Linked DNA regions of Homo sapiens: region 2 is linked to region 1. Evidence: promoter capture Hi-C in 16 types of primary human blood cells and fetal thymus (Javierre and others, 2016). All regions are on one chromosome and are shown on one strand. Each heading gives the region's core, a stretch centred on a gene start or on the middle of the fragment in contact. The rest is flanking DNA. Distances are from core to core; before and after follow the strand shown.

What was found. Contacts are between HindIII fragments. The CHiCAGO score rates a contact against its expected background, and 5 or more counts as called.
Region 2: a fragment that was not itself captured here is called in contact with the fragment with the promoter of C1QTNF2 in region 1 in 1 of 17 cell types (non-activated CD4 T cells); the score reaches 6.3 in non-activated CD4 T cells.

What each region holds. Positions count from the first base shown.
Region 1 is chr5:160,368,180-160,373,058 of GRCh38, forward strand. C1QTNF2 (C1q and TNF related 2) reads right to left here and starts at 2,447. Exons shown (of 3, transcript NM_031908.6): 1 at 2,333-2,447. The HindIII fragment of the contact is 8,188 bases long and covers 1-3,787 here.
Region 2 is chr5:163,410,981-163,415,859 of GRCh38, forward strand. LOC105377700 (a long non-coding RNA gene) reads right to left here and starts at 2,574. Exons shown (of 4, transcript XR_002956233.2): 1 at 1,339-2,574. The HindIII fragment of the contact is 1,038 bases long and covers 1,770-2,807 here.

The sequences.
Region 1 (4,879 bases), core at 1,197-3,696:
AAATCCAGGGGAAGGTTATTTGCTTGAAAAAATATTTGGCACATAATTCCTTTCAAAAGAAAAGCTAGAATGGGCTGGGCGCGGTGGCTCATGCCTGTAATCCCAGCGCTTTGGGAGGCCGAGGCGGGCGGATCACAAGATCAGGAGTTTGAGACCAGCCCGGCCAATATGGTGAAACCCCGTCTCTACTAAAAATACAAAAATTAGCTGGGTGAGGTGGTGTGCGCCTGTAGTCCCAGCTACTGGGGAGGCTGAGGCAGAAGAATTGCTTGAACCCAGGAGGCGGAGATTGCAGTGAGCCGAGATTGTGCCACTGTACTCCAGCCTGGGCAACAGAGCGAGACTCCTTCTCAAAAAAAAAGAAAAAAGAAAAAAAAGAGAAGCTAAAATGGAATATAACTAACAGAAGTTTGATTTATGCAAGAGTTCATCTCACAGAGGTAAATTAAGGTTGGCAGGCCTTTGACCAGGAAGAAGGAGTGGGTGAAGCTGTGGGTGTGGAGAGAGACTCTGTTACCCCACAGTGAACATTTAGGAGTAGGAAGCATCAGTGATTGAGACAGCAGGAGAGACTGTCTGATCAGCAGGGTCAGCATAAGAGAAGGAATAGCGAGACAGGGGGGAGGAATAGGGAGATTTGCAGAGGAAAAAAGTGACACCTTGGAGAACTTGCTGAACATTCAATGGAGACAGAGTGGCTTCAAACGTGACTCCAGCCTTGTGAAAAATAATCTCAGTTCATCCATACAATGACACACTATGCCCATTAGAAGAACAAAGTAAGCCTGTATATGCAGATATGAAAACATGGCGAAGACACACTGTTAAGTGAAAAAAGCAAGTTGTACCATGGAATGTAAAGTATGCTTCTCTTTGAGTTTAAAAAAAAAAAAAACAGCACAAATACAGAGTATATATATGTACAGAAGGGTTGGGGAAATACTTTCCGAAAAGACACAATCTTGTTAAGGGGTTACCTTTCAGAATTGGGAGGGGGTGTGTGGGCTTTTACTTTTCTCTTTCTACCTTTTTGAACTGTTCGAATTTCTTGTGATGAGCGTCGTTACTTTTATAACATTTAAAACAAAAGGTAAACCTAAGGTTTAAGGATTGGAAGACTGGTAAGTGTGGTATCCCTGCTAGGAGATGGGGAGAAGTCAGACATTTGGGAGGAAACAAATTCTGCAGTGAATCTGATGTGTTACAATGAAGGGCTGTAGTGATGCTTGGAAATGTGTGGAGAGTTTGAGGATCGGGCAGTTGAAAGCAGGAGTAATTGATATAATTACTCCAGATGACAGAATAAATTAGAGAATGGTGCAGAGGGAGGGCAAAAATAAGGATGTGAGAGGACAGATTTTTAACAGTGCTAACTGAGCACCAGCCTTGGATTGACCTATGTAAGACATTGTCTTTCTATTACTGCTACTTCAGCATGGTGGAAACACAGGGTCTCTGAGAGATGGCCAGTCTAAGGAAGGGACCTCTGCAGGCTTCCAAGCAGGGCAATTTTGTGGTCAAGGAGCAGAGGAGGATCACAATGAGGTAATGCAAGGGACTCATGGTGTCAGAGGAGAGACCTGGGCTGGGAGACTATTAGGGCCCACTGCAATTATTTAGCTGAAAAGCGAGGTCCTAGAATGGGGCAGCAGCAGTGGGGATGGAGAAATAAGGACAAAGCATATTAAGACAAGTAGTTTAGGTGGGGAAGGAGAGTGAAGAGAGTCATGAGGCATTGAGTACAAATCTCTGCCTGCCGTTCAATACCTTTTGAGCTCAGTTTGCCAGTCTGTATCATATATTTAAATAAATGTGAAGGTTAAGTGAAATAATGCATTCAGTAAATGTTAACTGTGATTGTTAGCTCGGGTATTGGACTCAGATTTACCAGACTTCAAGTCCCTTTTTTATCAATTACTAGCTGTGCAACCCTGTCCAAGTCATTAATGTCTCTGAGCCCAGTTCCTCTTTTGTAGACGGGGATAATCTGTTGTCATGAAAATGAAAGAGCACAAGTAAAGTGCTAGCAGGACTTGGCACAAAGTAGGCGCTCAATAAATGGCAGAGCTACGGGTGTTACTATTGTAACGGGTAAACCACTGGGCACAGAGCCTGGCACACAGTAAGGACTCAAAACATGTTAATTTGTATTATAATACGAAGGTAGAAGTCGAGAGGCAGGAATGCAGGAGCTGCCCAGCCCGCAATAAAGGCGCGCTGGCAGCTCTCCCACCTTCCGCATCCCGCCCCGCCCGCAGCAGTGCGAGTCCTCCTCCTCCTCCTCCCCGCGCGCACTTGCCGCCCCCGCCCGACCGCGGTGCGGGACACTCACCCTCGCGGCTGCCCGCCACGTCCAGGGGCGTCCGGAGCAAAGAAGCTCTCGGCGGGGCTCCGCGTCCCGGCTTTCCTCAGCGGCAGCAGCCGGGCAGAGCGTCGGCCCCAGGCATAGTTTTCCCATCCCGTCATGGGCGGGAGAGCCTTCCTCCCGGTCACGTGGGCTGGCCCGCAGCGCAGCATTCTCTTTTTAGCAGCTGTTTGGAAAAAACTTGCAGTGCTGATGACAACTCGGGTGTGTCGATGCATCTCTGCGTTTGTAGAGCTTGTTAGCGTATTTGGAGGTTTTGTGCGCCAGAGTGATCAGAGTGATTGTTTCCCACGCGTTTGCAAAGGTGTGCATGTACTTGAGTGTGATGATAAATCATAGGGATGTGTTTAGTTGTGTGTGTGCGTACGTGCGTTTATCCAAATTTTCATCAGGGCTGTTCGGTGTATGTACACATGCATGCACATGTCCAAGATGGCAGCTTGGTGTAAAACTGGAGGGCACATCAGTGGTTGGATGTACACGATAGTGGCTAGACATCTGTATGTGGGGTGCATGTTTAAATGTGTGTGTGACTGTGCAGGGGCTCATTCTGTGTGTTGGTTTGACATCTGTATGTGGGGTGTATGTTTAAATGTGTGTATGACTGTGCAGTGGCTCATTCTATGTGTTGATTTCTATGCATGCCTTGGTGTGGATTTTGTCCGGATGTGAGTGTGCACATACACACTAGTGTGGGTGAGTTCCCCTGTGTACCAGCTCTCATTTCTCTTCTCCCCAGAAGGTGAGGATTCACTGGTCTCACTCACTCTGGCCCAGCCTCAAGTCATTGAGAGACTTATGGAGGGTCTCAGCTCCCAGGATAGGCAAAGCAATCCTATTTGGGAATCAAGCAGGCACTGGAGGAAAGGAAATCCTCCAAGGCCTGGCTTTTGCTTCTCCCTGTTCCTTCCACTGCTCTCTTCCACTAGCTACCCATATTTCACTCTGCACAGCCAGAGCATCTGGTTAACAGCTGGTAAGTGACACAAAATTTACAGTCAGAATTTTAATACAGATATGCATTTGAATTCTAATGTTGTATCCACCACCTTAATCAAGTCAGATAATCTCACAGATGGTGTTTTATTTTCTAAAAAAAATGGGAGAATAATATTACCTGCACTGCCTTTACCCCAAAGTTGGGACACTAACTCATAAAGATGTTTGGTAAGCCATTGAACTATGTAGGGAATTATTACTAATATCACATAAATACTATTTGAGAAAGAAAGTTTGTAGGCTTAACAAACATTCATTCAACAAATATTTAATAAGCATCCATTGTGTGTCAGTCCCCAAGCAAGGTGCTGGGGACATAGAGGGAAACAAATAGGCTTGATGCCTACCCTCATGAAACTTAGAGTCCTCCAGCTGGGGATGACACAAGTGGTTACAAGTGAAATGAGTGTTATAGAAAAGAAAAGCTTAAAGTATAAACTGGGCAGTCAGGGGAAGGCCTGGGAAACTGATGTTTCAGGTGAACCCTGAGAGATGACTGAGACTTGTCTGAATGTAGGGGAAGTGTGAGCTCAAAAAATGAAGGAATGATAACATGTGGAGTGGAGTTTAGGGTGTTGATACACAGATGGCTGGAAAGGAAACTTCCATCCACCGCCTCTTGGGTCAGATGTGTCAGCAATTGGAAAGGTGAGGAAACTGCTTAGAATGCCTGGAGGCCATTCAGAATCTAAAGGGCTCAGGAAAGCCCCTCTCCTAGAGTAGAGTGGTAATATCTGTGTGTTATCCATGTGGCTCCATCATGACAGAGGTTGAAATCACTGGCATGCTCTCATTGGTTAAAAAAAAAAGGTTAATGAAAAGTTAAGAAAGGCAGTGCTGCTATACCTGGTAGTGTGAAACATTTAATAAACACTACTGATTGAATGAATGGGGGCACATGTTTTTCCAACTTTTGAAGGATACCTGGAACCTAGGTTTCCTGAAGCCTAGCAGAGTTCCTGGGTCCCTGTCCTATGGTTCCTTGCAGTGGTGATGGCTTCATGTAGCATGCAATCCAAAATACTTGTCCGGTGGCAGTTCCACGAGCTGCAGGAACTGTGTCAAGCTAGAATGGGGCTTAGAACTTCCTCTCCCTAGCCTCTCTCTGTCTTTACTCTCTGCTTGAATTCAGTCTACGAACATTTGTTTGTTTGTTTGTTTAAGATGGAGTCTTGCTCTGTTGCCTAGGCTGGAGTGCAGTGGCACAATCTCAGCTCACTGCAATCTCCACCTCCCGGGTTCAAACGATTCTCCCGTCTCAGCCTGCCAAGTAGCTGGGACCACAGGCGCGCAACACCACACTAGGCTAATTTTTGTACTTTTAGTAGAGATGGGGCTTCACTATTTTGCTCAGGCTGGTTTTGAAATCCTGGCCTCATGTCATCCAACTGCCTCGGCCTCCCAAAGTGCTGGGATTACAGGCGTGAGCCATTGCACCCGGCCACAGTCTATAAACATTTATTACCTATTATGAGTATGGGGACAAAGAGATGAACTTCTGAATGAGAACACAAA
Region 2 (4,879 bases), core at 1,039-3,538, 3.0 Mb after region 1:
TGCTGACTTCCCAGAGTATCGTGAGTGGCTGTGATCTGAATAACATATCACGGCTGAGTGTGAGCCAGGCTTACACTCAGGACATGATGCAAGCGATGCTTTGCTTAAGTTCAACAAACACATTGAAGCCTTATGGTACATCAGGCATCATGCTAGAGACACCGAGTATAAAGATCTGCTAATCACTCCTGTGAGACAGGCGCACAAACAGAATAGTACTGCAGCATCCCAGAGGACGGAGAAGCAGTGTGGGCCAATCAGGAAAAATGAATTAGGCCTTTGTAATGAGTTTCATAGTGGCCCCTGAAAGATGTATCCAGGCCCCACCCTCAGTATCTGCGAACATGATGTTATTTGGAGAAAAGGGCTTTGCAGATGTAATTAAGTAAAGACTCTTGTGATGAGATCATCCAGATTTAGGAAGGCCCTGTGTTCAATGACTAGCATCCTTCTAAGAGAAAAGAGAGGGAGATTTGAGAAAAGGAGAAATATGGAGATGGCTATGGGAAGCTGAAGGTAGAGACTGGAGTGACAGGCCAAGGAATGCCAAGGATTGCCTCGTAGGCATTTATTATTTCCCACTCACTACAGGATTTTTTCCTTTACTTTTTCCTTTTACCTGAAATCAGCCACTTTATAACTAGAACACACTGTGCATCCATACGGTTGAATTCCAGGCGTTGGAACGCCTTTTGTTGTTGGTAAGAGACTCCCTGTCTTCTTCAACAGATCCTGTAAACTACTTAACGGTGCAATGCTGTTTACTCATAGCATTTTTTTTTTTTTTGGATGGAGTTTCACTCTTGTCACCCAGGCTGGAGTGCAATGGTGCTATCTCAGCTCACTGCAACCTCCACCTCCCAGGTTCAAGCAATTCTCCTGCCTCAGCCTCCCGAGTAGCTGGGATTACAGGCATGCGCCACCACACCCAGCTAATTTTTGTATTGTTAGTAGATGGGGATTCACCATGTTGGTCAGGCTGCTCTCAAACTCCTGACCTCAGGCGATCCACCTGCCTCGGCCTCCCAAAATGCTGGTATTACCGGCAGGAGCCACCACGCCTAGCCACTCATAGCATCTCTTAATAGAGAACTCTGTAAAATAAGATATTGAAAATGAAAATAAGATAAATACGTATTTTTAACCCAAACAAGATCTTGTCAGGCTACTTACTTTGAAACACATGATCTTCTTCAGTACTTGCCCCTAATGGCAGTAGTCTTAGTAAAGATTTAATTTTACAGGAAAAATGTTCCTTCTCAGCCCCCAAGCCAAATGTCCTCATCATCCTACCCTCAGAAACTCTATCCACACTTTGCCCAAGCCCCCGGAACTCACCAGTCTGGATTTGATCCGTCTCCAAGACCAAGCGGGGTGGTGCTCACACACCCCTGATCCTCCATCTGTGAAAGCAGAGACCAGAGAAGCATTTGATCTGCCTAAGACATCAGAGACAAGTTCAGTGGGCGCTCTCTGAGCCATTTCCTAAAAGTAGAGCCTGGGCTTCTGGTCCAATCTAGGGAGAGAGCACATGGTCCTCCAGACTTTGCTGACCTTATACTGGTCTATATGGTCTAGGTTCATCAAAGTGTTACTTTTGCCCCCTCTTCAAATTGTGCTGTTTAAACTTCTATTTCTCCATCTTCATCACTATCATGTCCCCTTGGGGTTGGAATCTCAAGAAGCCAACATATTGAAATGTTCAGAGCAATAAATGGTCTCCATAATCTTTGCAGTGAATACATCAACTCTATTTTGCTATCCCAATAAGCTTTTAAATATCCTAGTTTCATATGAATTTACATCAGGCCATAATGAGGCAATGGGACAACATTTAAACCACATATAGACTAAGTGGCGTTTAACTCACCAACTCAAGTGTGGAAGAAATTTCACATTATTTCCTTTAAACCTACTTTTCTCATTATGTCCTTCTGTAGACTTCCATGGGAATCTGGGGAGCTTATAAATACTTGAAAAAGTCAACAAGAGTTATTTAATCTTCAGCCCATTGTGATTGCTGCCACTATCCTCACTGTCTGATTCTGCAGGGCCCCTTGAAGTGGGCGGCTCCACCGCAGCCATGACACTGGGGCGCAAGGCACCTTGCCAAGCCGACCTAGGTTTCAGGCTTCTGGAGTTGAGCACTCCATTGGCAGTTTCTTCTGCAGCTTTGCCATTCTCTAGGTAAGGGCTAGGGCTGCTGCCAAGATTCCATCACGTCATAGTGCTATTGTATCATGGCCTCTTACCACTCTAGGAGAGGGGCTGGAGCATCCCTAATTATGCAGGTGAAAGCCCCTCTCAGGCAATCTGAAGTCTGGCTTTGCTAGAACTCTGTGCTGGCCTAGAATAAACAGGCCAAAGGTGCCCACGTGCCTGCTACCCCTACAGTCTGAAACTTCTCCAGTGAACACTGCTGTTTCAGGTCTGACAATCTGTGCCCCCTGGTCATTTGCCCTTATTTGTACATCAGATGCCCTATCCCAGAAAAGGAGATGATGAATCTCTGGAGTATGAATCACTTCATTATTTTATATCATTTTTTAAAATTATCTGATACTCTAAAGCCACGCAAAAAGATTAAGGGCATATTTGAACTACCTTTTAACAAGGCATGCTGAATATATGGTTGATTGTCACACGGTTCAATAAAAATTCACTAAAGCAATAGTGAAATAAATGTAAAAAGTCTAAATTCAAAATGTAAAGAGAATGGGAGAGGAGACAATGAAGAAGAAATTAACATGTTTTTTTGAGACTGAAAGTTGATATAGGAATGGTAACTGATTTACCAGAGCTGAGAAAGCTTAAAACATGACTTCAGGAAAGGTTTCCAAAAAAGAAATCCTATTCAGGAAAGAAAGAAAAAAAGGAAGGAAGGAAGGAAGGAAGGAAGGGAGGAAGGGAGGAAAGGAGAAAGGGGGAAGGGAGGAAGAGGGGAAGGGAGGGAAGGAGGGAGGGAAGGAGGAAGGAAGGAAAGAGGGGAGGGAGGGAGGGAAGGAAGGGAGGGAGGGAGGGAAAGAAAGGGAGAAAAAGAAGGAAGGAAAGAAGGAAGAGATGGAGGGAAGGTGAGACGGGAAGGAGGGAGGAGAGAGAAGCTCACAGAAATTGAAGGCTCCAGGTAACCTAGAAGATAGACTGAAATGTATGTGATCAGTTGATAATCTGTATAAGGAGCAGTTAAGCTCTCAGATCCCCATGCCCTCATCACAGCCAAGCAACTGCTCTTCCCTAACCCCCACAGCATACTGCAGTGCTTGTTCTCAAAGGACACTGCAGCAGAGAGACCCTAGACTCTGGAACACCTGGCACCCAGAAAGCAGGAGAAGGCATCCAACTAAAGACAGGTTCTGAGAATGCCAGCTCCCTTCCCTACCTCACTCTCAAAACACTTTCAAATAAATTTAATTTTAAGAAAATATCTGCTGACAGAATATCAGAGGATCCCTTGGTGGAGAAAATAAATGCCCCCCAAGAAGCTCTATATATAATTTTTGTGAAATAGTTTTGTGAATAGATCTCTCAGTTGTCTAATCATCAATATGCCGGAGATGATGATGCCCAGTCACTTTGGCATGATTGACGTTTTGGACCATAGAATTCCTTGTTGCTGAGGCTGTCTTGTGCATTGCAGGATGTTTCAAAGCATCCTTGGTTTCTCCCACTACATGTCAGTGATGGCCATTCAAAAATGTCCCGAGACAATGCCAAATGTCTCCTAGGGGAAACAATTATGCCCCATATAAGTACTGCCACCCTACAAGGAAACCCATTAGCCCATTAGTCAACAAATACCACAAACATACACACAGCTCCCAAACAGCTTTCTAATTACTCACTTCTAATGATGAGCAGCCAACAGAAACTCCAAAGCAAAATAAGACAGAAACTAAAATAAACAGAACAAAGAAACTCTTAAAAATCAAACAGGGAGAATTTCTATGTGTGTTTAAAATTGTCTGTGAGAAAAAAAGTTGTTAAGTACAAAATAAATAAAAATATGGAGATAAATGTAACAAGCAGTTAAAATGCTAAGGACTTTTGTCTCAAAAATGAGGTTTTGGTGGCTCACGCCTGTAATCCCAGCACTTTGGAAGGCCAACACAGGCAGACTGCTGAAGTTCAGGAGTTCAAGACCAGCCTGGCCAACATGGTGAAACCCCATCTTTACTAAAAATACAAAAAATTAGCTGAGTGTGGTGGCACATGCCTGTAGTCCTAGCTACTCAGGAGGCTGGCGCAGGAGAATCACTTGAACCCAGGAGACAGAGGTTGCAGTGAGCCGAGACTGCACCACTGCACTCCAGCCTGGGCAACAGAGCGAGACTCCACCTCAAAAAAAAAAAAAAAAAAAGCGGAATGTGGAGATGATTTGAGTGACATCAGTAGATATGGAATTACCTGTCACTATTAGTGCTAAGAAAACATTAGGTGATAACTGCCAAATGTGTACACAGACAAGTGATATAAAAATTTAAAACAGAGGAACACACTTAGCTTAGCTTTAGGAGATTCTGGCATCTCATAGGAAAAGGGATCAAATTATAAATGATATACGTCTGGAAATTCAGTAAAAATAGTAGGTTGTGCACAGTGTTTTTGCCATAGTAGTGAAGGCACGGATTTCTTTTGTTTGGTGTTCTTGGGGACAAGATGACAAATGTAAAAGTCCCTTAATTAGTGAGAAATCACCAGCCTTCTTTGGATCTACCCCACTTAGGGAGAGGAGATGGTAAAATGACGAATAAAGGGAAAAGTGACTGAGGAAAGAAAGGTGAGAGGAAGCTGCAGAGGCAGGAGGTGGAGGGAAAGTGCAGATCTGCTGGCGCGGGGTCTGGGGTCTCAGGTCTCGGCCGCCTGGGGAGCCACCTGCCTG